2 separate regions of the Homo sapiens genome follow, and region 1 is linked to region 2. The links are contacts of gene promoters, found by promoter capture Hi-C in blood cells and fetal thymus (Javierre and others, 2016). All regions are on one chromosome and are shown on one strand. The core of a region is centred on a gene start or on the middle of the fragment in contact, and the rest is flanking DNA. Distances in the headings are between cores, read along the strand shown.

Region 1 (4,620 bases), core at 1,737-4,236, 270 kb after region 2:
GGGGGCCAGGCCAGCAGCTGGGCCCATAGTCTTTTTTTTTTTTTTTTGAGACAGCCTGCACTCTGTCGCCCAGGCTGAAGTGCAGTGGCACGATCATGGCTCATTGCAGCCTTCACCTCCTGGGCTCAAGTGATCCTCCTGCCTCAGCTTCCCCAGTAGCTGGGCATGAACCACGATGCCCAGCTAATTTTTTAATTTTTGATAGAGACGGGGTTTTGCCATGTAGCTCAGGATGGTCTCAAACTCTTGGACTCAAGTGATCCGCCTGCCTCAGCCTCCCAAAGTGCTGGGATTACAGGTGTGAACCACCACACCTGGCCACTGGGCCCATATTCGAAGAACTAGGAATAATGAGAAGCTACTTAAATGTTTAAACAGGGGAATGACATGCTCAGAGCTGCATTCTGAACACATCATAGGGCTGCCATGTGAAGAATGGATTATAGGGCCTAAGAGCAGATGTAGATGATCAGTCATGAGGCTACTGCAAGGATCCAGGGGGGACAGATGATGACAGAGTGGACTAAGGTGATGGAAGTGGAGACAAAGACGCAGAGAAGGGAGGCAGATTCATGAAAAATTGAGAGGGAGCAAAAACCACACTGGCGTAGCACCTACTCAGCTATGGAAGATGGTGGTGGGAGGTCAACCTGGCAGAGGCATAGCAGAGGAACTGAGGGAGAGGCTGTGACAAGGAGGCCAAAGCAACAGATTTGGGAGCTGAAAAAAATCAGGAGAAACACTGGATGAGGCCTAGTGTCTGATTTTGATGGATGGCACTGCCACTCTCCAAGCCAAGGAAAGAGAAGGAAAGGAGAGGTGAGAAGGAAGGAGACAGTCTGTCGCAGCCATACTGTCTGAGGTGTCTGTGGAAATGAGATACATGAGTCTGAAGTACATGGAAGAGGTCTGACCTAGAGATCTAGAGGTAGGCCATCAACATCCAGTTGGTAACTGAAGCCAGCCTAAGTATAAAGCACTCAAGGAAAAGGTCCAGGCCTGGTGCAGTGGCTCATGTCTGTAATCCCAGCGCTTTGGGAGGCTGAGGCGGGTGGATCTCCTGAGGTCATGAGTTCAAGACTCGCCTGGTCAACATGGTGAAACCCCGTCTCTACTAAAAATACAAAAATTAGCTGGGTGTGGTGGTGGGTGCCTGTAATCCCAACTACTCAGGAGGCTGAGGCAGAAGAATTGCTTGAAGTCAGGAGGTGGGAGGTTGCAGTGAGTCCAGATCGCACCACTGCACTACAGCCTGGGCAACAGCGAGACTCCATCTCAAAAAAAAAAAAAAAAAAAAAAAAAAAAAAGGTCCAGAATGAGAAAAGGCTAAAGGAATGGCAACATTTACAATAAAGGCATGGAGAAAAGCTTATTGAAGGATGAAAAAGCAGAAGAACCAGCAGAGGGTGGTACACAGAAACCAGAAATGCAAATACATTGTAATACAGTAATATTAAATGCTGCAGACAGGGCCAAAAAGAGAAAGGGAGCCAAGAGGCAGAGACTAAGAAGTACCTTTTGGGTTTTGAGATTAGACCACTGGGGGCAGGGGTGGGGGGAAGGGGGGAAATTCTGAAGACAGCCACTTGGGTGGAATGTAGACATGCATGCCAAGCTGCAACAGGCTGAGAAGCAGAGGCAGCAAGGGAAGTGGATATGGTGGTAGTTATAAAGGGAGGGTGGTGCAGAGGGTATGCTCATGTGAATGTGATGATTTCTTTTAAACACTGGAGAGACAAAGCATGCTACATGCTGAGGACCTTCAGCTAGTTTACTGGAGACTTCTCATGTGGGCAGGAAAATAAATTGGCCCTAAAGGTCCCATGTGACGAGGGAAGGTGGAAGCTAACAACTTCAGATTAGTTAAGGTGTTGGAATCTGTTGTCCCAGGAAGGTAAAGTGTTACTTTATCAATGAAAAGTCACATCAAAGATAAAACGCTGGGAGGACCACTGGCTTCAATGGAAAAAGCCAAAAAGAACCTGAAATATGCAAAGCAGATCATCATCACTGCACCATAATTGGGGTAAATGGTATCTTAAAGGGAACAATTCCTACTGAGTCTATGCCCCACAGAACAGACACACTGTGAGCAAAAGGAAAGGACTGGGAAAAGGACATCATGAGTAAAAGTAGGATTTGTCCATTCATAATTACTGTCCAAACCCCAATAATTCTCAGAAAGGCTGCTGGTAAATTTTTGTTGAGTTGAAGTTTGCGAAGTTATTGTGCTTGAAATTCTCAAAGTAGCTACTGGCAGAATTAGGCAAAGAGAGCTAATCATACTTCTTCCTACAGATGTTTAAAGATAAAGGACCTCAATAAGGAAAAAAACAAATAAGGAGGCTTGCACAGCCATCATGACAGCTGGCTAGTACCATCCTCTTCACATAAAGCATGCCATATCTTTGGGGCTCATGGCTTTCATCTGCAAAGGTTTCACTTGACTCCTGATTATAACCAGAATACTTTGCCCTGATCTCAGAAAATGACTCTTTCTGATCTATTTCAAGTCTAACATTTTAGAGACAGAAAAACAAAGTCAGAGATTAACTTCCAAGATTGCAAAGTATGCCACAATCCAATTTTAACTTTCTTCAGAATCCCAATTTTAAGTGGGAGTAGAAGGCCCACCTTAACAGTAGTAAGAACATTCATAAAGACTAAAATAGAACCTTGCTCAAAATAACTTGCACCCACTAGGTCAAACAGGCAGCTCAAATTTCTGCAATCTGAACCTTGCTCTCAATATTATGCTCACTCAAGTCAATGTTATAGTAGAAGTATGTGCTATTTTCACACAGCTATCTCAAATGTAAACAAGATCATTTAAAAGCCAGAAGAGAGCTCCATTAGTCTAATTAAACTATTCTGTGTTTACTCCTTCATAAAACAAAAGACTAATCCTTAACTTGTATAGAGGTTTATACAAAATAAGCTCAATGAAGTCCTAGACTGGTTAAGATGCTTTGGAAAAGACAAGAACTCCTACAGCAGGAACGCATTCTGGTGGCAGAGACCGTGAAATGTATATGACCTTCAGTATACTTAAAAGACAAGCAGACATCTGCACATATACATAGAACCACTTCTAGAAATCTACAGGAAGAAAATAATCCAAACACTGAAAGTTAGCCTAAAGCTAAGAGACAGAGACAGAAACATACAAGTGCTCAATACAAATAATCATTGACTATCCAACCACAGGTATTCAAGCAATCATTTACAATGTTTATAAAGTTTTTATTTACAAGGAAAAATAATCATGTTAAGAAAAAAGCATGACAGAAAATTATCTGCAAGTTATCATTCAGTTTAATTTTAAACTAAGAGGAAAAGGAAATACGCAAAAATTAAAAATAGTTATCTCTGGGTAATGAGACTAATTTTATTCTTTATACTTATTTGCTAAGTTTCCTCTGATGTATTACTTTTACAATCAAAAAAAGAAAACAAAAACAAAAACAAAAACCCTGAGTACTAGTTGAACCAGAGTGAATGTTCTGGCAGGCAGGAGTAATAAGAGGCCCAGGTGCTGTTTTAACTTCATATTATATGCATTCCATAAATATGAAAAATTAGTGCTACATATACCAGCTGAAACTCAGTGGCACTGTTCCATCAAGCAGGGGTTACACTGCCCACAGAAGTTGGGCTACAAATATGAAAACGGTACTATGGCTAAAGGCATGAATTCTTGCTGGGAAAGCCTTAAAACCGTGTCACTTTTTCAATGTAAAGTCTCAAAGTCTCAAATGTTGGCAAATCATGTTCTTAAGTCACTAAGTATGTGAAGTACATTATAATGTGGCATTATTTTCCTGGAGTGAAAAATAAGTATCATAGGTTTCACATTGTAATAAAGAAACACACACACACCCAACAGATAAAAGCTCCAGCTATAAACTGGGCCTAAGCAGTAGGGTCAGTAGACTAAAATGAATAAAAGAAATCCAAGGAACTCCAAATCACTCACAGAAGCCCACACATTAACTCAATAAAAGTCCTCACATATTGGAGGGAAACTGGCGGAAAAAAAGAAAATAAAAGAAAAGTAAAAAGAAAGAAAACTCCCACATCAAAGTAGGGGATGGAAAGGCAAGGGAGAGCAGTAAGCACACTACGGCCTGCTTCGTGGGAAGGTACTGAGTGCAAGGCCCCGTAATTACTTGGCAACAGAATGACCTGTTTTAACAACTATTCTAACAACCTGGGTGCTGACAGAGCTGCCAGCCTAGGGAGGACAGACTTGAATACTACAGAAGGGCAGTGAGTTTAGAGGACTGAGAGGAGGGGGCCGGCACTAGGCAGGGCCTCTCAGCTCCCAGGAGAACACAGTGGATGATCACTGTAGTTAGGAGTCAGAAGATCCAGGTACTGGTCCTCACTGGCTTCCTCTGTGACCCTGAAGTGTTCACATAAACCCAAGGGCTCTTACCTAAAATGACAATTAGATCACCGGCTCCCATCTGTCCTTACCATGATAGGACACTGAGATACTGGCTTTGATCATCATAGGAAAGACGAATTTACTCCAAAGTTGACAAAAAAGGAGCTCTCTATCTCCCCCTACTGCCTGGCCTAATATTGAAACAAAAGCTTCTAACCATCTGCACCCTG
Region 2 (4,967 bases), core at 1,077-3,576:
AAAACAAAACAAAACAAAACTAAACTAAACTAAACTAAACTAAACTAAACTAAACTAAACTTTCCTCATTGGCATGCCATTGAAACTGCAAAGCAAGAAGGGGGCTGTGAGGATAACAAGCACTCCTAGCTTGGTGCCTGACACACAGCAGGCACTCAGTAAATGCCTGGAACAGCAAATAGGGTTTATATTATTAAAAATATGGAAAGGGGTCGGGCGCAGTGGCTCACGCCTGTAATCCCAGCACTTTGGGAGGCCGAGGCGGGTGGATCATCGAGACCATCCTGGCCAACATAGTGAAATCCTGTCTCTACTAAAAATACAAAAATTAGCTGGGCGTGGTAGCATGTGCCTGTAATCCCAGCTACTCGGGAGGCTGAGGCAGGAGAATCACTTGAACCAGGGAGTCGGAGGTTGCAGTGAGCTGAGATTGTGCCATTGCACTCCAGCCTGGCAACAGAGTGAGACTCCGTTTCAAAAAAAAAAAAAATATGGAAAGGACCAAAATGTCCAACCTCAGAGGACTGGTTACATAAACATGGTGTGTGTGCACAGTGCAAAGGAACAAAAGAGAAACTTCCCTGATTTACAGTTTCAATGCAAGTAGCAGTTACCAGGTCCCACTGTTCCGAGATCTGAGGGGCCCAGGTTTCTGTCCCCAAGGCAGACATGGGTACACAGATGACCAGCAGCCTCCCCTTTCACCTCTTTCCAATTTGCTCTTCTCCCTCTAGCAAACGCACATGTTGGGGTCCTTCCGCCTGGAACGCTACCCCTTGTCCCTGGGTAATTCCCACTGTCTTTTCCATTTTACTATATCCTGGAATCCTTCCCTGATTTCCCTCTGCCTGTCTCGAGCCAGTCTGGGCTCCCAACAACCCTATCTAAGGGAATGTTGTTATCTCATTTAATAGGTAAGGCAATTGAGGCTCTAGGGATGTGAGAAGACATGTGGTCAGTGCCTGTCCATATCCTTGAGTCTTTCCAGTGAGTGACAGTTGACTCCCAGCTGCCAATGTCTGCCTCCCTGAGCCTGTATGTCCCGAGGCTTTTTGTCCTGGAACTGCAGAAAGCAGGTACATGCAACAGGACAGAAGTGCTGGGGAGTTGACAAACCCCCGGCCCAGAAGCCCTCAATCAATCACTGTGGTGTATAAATATCCCAGTTCCCATGCCACCTGGATAGTCGGGAGGCTTTGTTTCAGTATTTAAAAAAAAATACTCCTACTTTTGCTCATTCTTTGTTTTATTTTTATTTATTTTTTTGAGACAGTCTCCCTCTGTTGCCCAGGCTGCAATGCAGCAGCATGATCTCGGCTCACTGCAACCTCTGCCTCCCGGGTTCAAGCGATTCTCCTGCCTCAGCCTCCCAAGTAGCTGGGATTACAGTTGGCTGCCACCAAGACTGGCTAATTTTTGTATTTTTAGGAGAGGCGAGGCTTCACCATGTTGGCCAGGCTTGCCTCGAACTCCTGGCCTGAAGCTATCCACCCACCTCGGCCTCCCAAAGTGCTGGGATTACAGGCGTGAGCCACTGTGCCTGGCCTGCCCATTCTTTAAAATTGAGGAATAATATACATAAAGTACCTAACGGGCACAAATTTTAAAGGTATTGCTAAATAATTTTTAATGTTTATACAGGAATGTGATCACCACCTGGATCAAGATATGGCAACTTCCAGCACCCCGGCAGACCTCCCTCATGCCCTTCAGGGTCTCTGCCTGCCTCTAGAGGTGACCACAATTCTGACTTCCAGTTCAGAGGCATGTGTTTCCAAACTTTACGCAGAATTTTCCCAGCTGAGTGGTTCCCATCATCAGAGGTGGTGGCTGGTTTAATTGCACACTCTCTCCTGGCTGCCCTCCCTTCCTCATCTCAGTACCGATTCCCTACAGTGTTTCCTGGAATCATTTCCCAAATCAACTACTTGCACGCAAAGCTGTGTTCTGTTGGCTGGTGGAGGACCTCACTACCACAAATAACATGCCCAGGGCACTCAGCTGGTGGGCAGTAAGGCCAGAATAGGAGCCAGAGCCACCTGACCCAGAAGGTGGCACTGCCCCAGGGAGAGGGTCCGGTCTGTGTCCCCACTCCCTGTCCCCACTGTACCCAGAGCAGCCTGGAGCGTGGGTTTGCCAAGTCCAGCCAGCAGATGTGGCTTCTTACCATACTGCAGTCCCTTGTCGGTGATCCTGGCGACCAAGCCGGGGTTGGCACCCAGAGCCTCTGGGGTGGACGTAAGCAGCAATGCCAGCAGTATGGACGGCAGGGCTCTGGCCAAGGCCCCCATCCTAGATTCCCAGTGCAGTGGGCCAGGACTGTCCCAGCTGTGGATTGGGCCCAGGTCCCTTAAGTAGCCAAGGCTCGATGGCTGGGGGCAGTTCCTGAGGCTGGATGGGTTCCTGGGAGCGGGAAGGGGAGGCACAGGGACTGGAACCTGCTTGCGACATCACTGAAGTCATAAGGTCATACTTAGAAGCCAGTTTTCACTGCCCAGATCAGTGGATGAGGAAGCCTGACTCCTATGATCATCCCTGTCCACCCTCCCCACAGAAAGACCCCATATTCATCACTGTTCATCTTGCCTCATCTCAGCCAGTCTCTTAAGAGCTCGGCTAGGAAGGCCTGGTTTAGCAGATGAGGAAACTGAGGTTCAAAAAAGCCACATAGCTCCCTTGAGATCTCACCCCCAGCAGAGGGCAGGGTTGAGAGTGAAGCTACATCTGGCACCAACCAAACTCTCTTTTTTAAAATATATTGGCTCGTTTATTTAAAAAATAAATGTTTCCCCCAATGGGAAAACAGTGTTTCTCAAACCTTGCTGGTGGTGAAATTTTCTGGAAGGCAATTGGCAAATGTTTAAACAGTTGCATGCCCTGTGACCCAGGAATTCAATTTCAGGGACTTGCCCTTAAATACATAATTGAGTCAGTGTGCCAGTAAATCACTGCTCCAAGATACCACTGCTATGCTGTGGGAAACAGGACAGGAGAAGTGAGACCCAACCTCATGTATCCACCAGAAGGGCATTGGTTAAATGAATTATGACATGCCCCTTAAAGTGAGGCTGCAGAAATAAAGGTATTTCTTGGCAAGGAAAGGGATGTCATGAGGCATCCGTTTCCGATGGCACCATAGAGTAAGGTTCTATTTTGGGGGGTTCAAAATAGGCTTCTATGTTCAACAATCTGGAAAATATTTAGCAAGGAGTCATGAGGCATTGTCTCTGGTTGTGGGGGTAGAATTATAAGTGTTAAAAAAGTTTTTGCTTGTTGATACGTACAATTTTTTTTTCTTTTTTCATTTTTTGAGACAAAGTCTACTCTGTTGCTCAAGCAGGAGTCCAGTGGCATGAACATCGCTCGCTGCAACCTCAACTTCCTGGGCTCAAGTGATCCTCCCACCACAGCCCCCTAAGTAGCTGGGACTACAGGTGTGAGCCACCATGTCCAGCTAATTTTTTGTATTTTAGTAGGGACGAGGTCTTGCTATGTTGCCCAGGCTGGTGTCGAACTCCTGAGCTCAAGTAAGCCTCCCGCTTGGCCTTCCAAAATACTGGGATTATAGACTTGGGCCACCATGCCCAGCCTCTAAAATTTTTATTTTCTTGGGGGTATGGTCCCGGGCATATATTCGCAGTAAGTAAAGATAGTAAAATTTCATTCTGGAAAACAAAATTTATAGTACAGACTGTGTTTAATTTTTAGAGTTTTGCCCCAGCCCTGCTTACATTTGTGAGTTCTGCTTTGCCCTCACCCCCAGGAAGCCTTCCCTGACCACTCCCATGCTTCTCTGGATTCTAGAAAGGGTCCCCTCTGAGGTCCCAGAACCCTTTGCGCTTTCCCCACCACAGCATTAACCACTCTGCTTTTTGATAATTGTGGTCCTTTAAAAATATGCCCACGAATTCTTTGATATTCCTTCCATCAAAAGGTAATGTTTCTGCCCCCTTCCCTTGAAATTGGGCAGGTTTTCATGATGGCCTCAACCAACTGAATGTGGTGGGATTAACAGGGTGACTCCCAATAGGTCACAAACAGCACTGGCAGGCACTGAGGTTAAGATCAGAATGTCCCACGTTAAGCACAGGGAACCCCACAGTCCAGGCCTCTCTGCTCCTCTGTACCGTGTTGCTCCTGTCACTGGGGCTGAGGTTTGTTGGGATCCTCATCCGTCCCTCCCCTCAGTCCCCACACCACCAGTCTGATGGCTCCTTGCAGGCACGGCTGAGTCTTCCATTTCCTGAGATCCTTGCAGCACCCAGCAGAAATTGGAAAGAAACTGATATTTATTGAGCACCTACTATGTGCAGGCGCTGTGCTGGTTAAGCTGCACGTCTCCTCTCATCCTTGCATCAGCAACCCCAGGTGGATATTTTAGTCTTGTCTTGAGATGAAGAAACTGAGGTTTGGCAGGGTGAAGTGATGTAGGCTGCAGTCACCCAGCAGGAATTTAAGTCCAGGTCTGCAGGATGCCATTCCAAAACTCTGGTCAGGGCAGGGTTCTCTTGGGAGGCAACAAGCTGAGCAGAGGCCTCAGGGTAAGGAGCCAGCCTTTGGGAGGCTTTGGAGCAGGAAAGGGCTCACAGGTGCATCCCCAGTGTGCCTAGGGGCCTTTGCTTCCTGGACCTCAGCCTGCCCAGGAGGGGAGGAGAGTGGGGGAGGACATTCTGGAGCATAAGGATCTTATGGGGACATAGATGTCACTCTTCCTCTGGCAGCAGTTTAAGGATGTCCCTGGCTGGGAGTCATTTGCAGGGGTGGGAATTTCCCACAGCAGCAATCTTTGGACCTTAGAGCTGCCACATGGCCCAGGCCTGGCCTCCACCCCTGCAGGTGCCCACTGCTGGCTAAGGTCCCTGCTGATGGCCCAGGACCCAGCAGAGGCCTCAGGGAGCAGCACGACCCCACTGCTGGTCAGAACCCCTGGGCCTTTCTCCTACCAGGCTGTCCATCCAATTCCACAA

Evidence for each region. The method cuts DNA at HindIII sites, captures the fragments that hold promoters and counts their contacts. A CHiCAGO score of 5 or more calls a contact.
Region 1: a contact is called between a fragment that was not itself captured here and the fragment with the promoter of LBP in region 2, in 1 of 17 cell types (monocytes). The highest score is 6.1, in monocytes.

Annotation. Positions count from the first base shown.
Region 1 is chr20:38,073,594-38,078,213 of GRCh38, reverse strand. The region is part of intron 6 of RPRD1B (regulation of nuclear pre-mRNA domain containing 1B); the gene reads right to left. Among named protein-coding and RNA genes, the nearest start is that of RPRD1B, 42 kb to the right of the region's middle. The HindIII fragment of the contact is 3,231 bases long and covers 1,371-4,601 here.
Region 2 is chr20:38,343,841-38,348,807 of GRCh38, reverse strand. It overlaps LBP (lipopolysaccharide binding protein), which reads right to left and starts at 2,326. Exons shown (of 15, transcript NM_004139.5): 1 at 2,168-2,326. The coding sequence starts at 2,291. RefSeq lists an enhancer at 4,273-4,967. The HindIII fragment of the contact is 10,913 bases long and covers 1-4,967 here.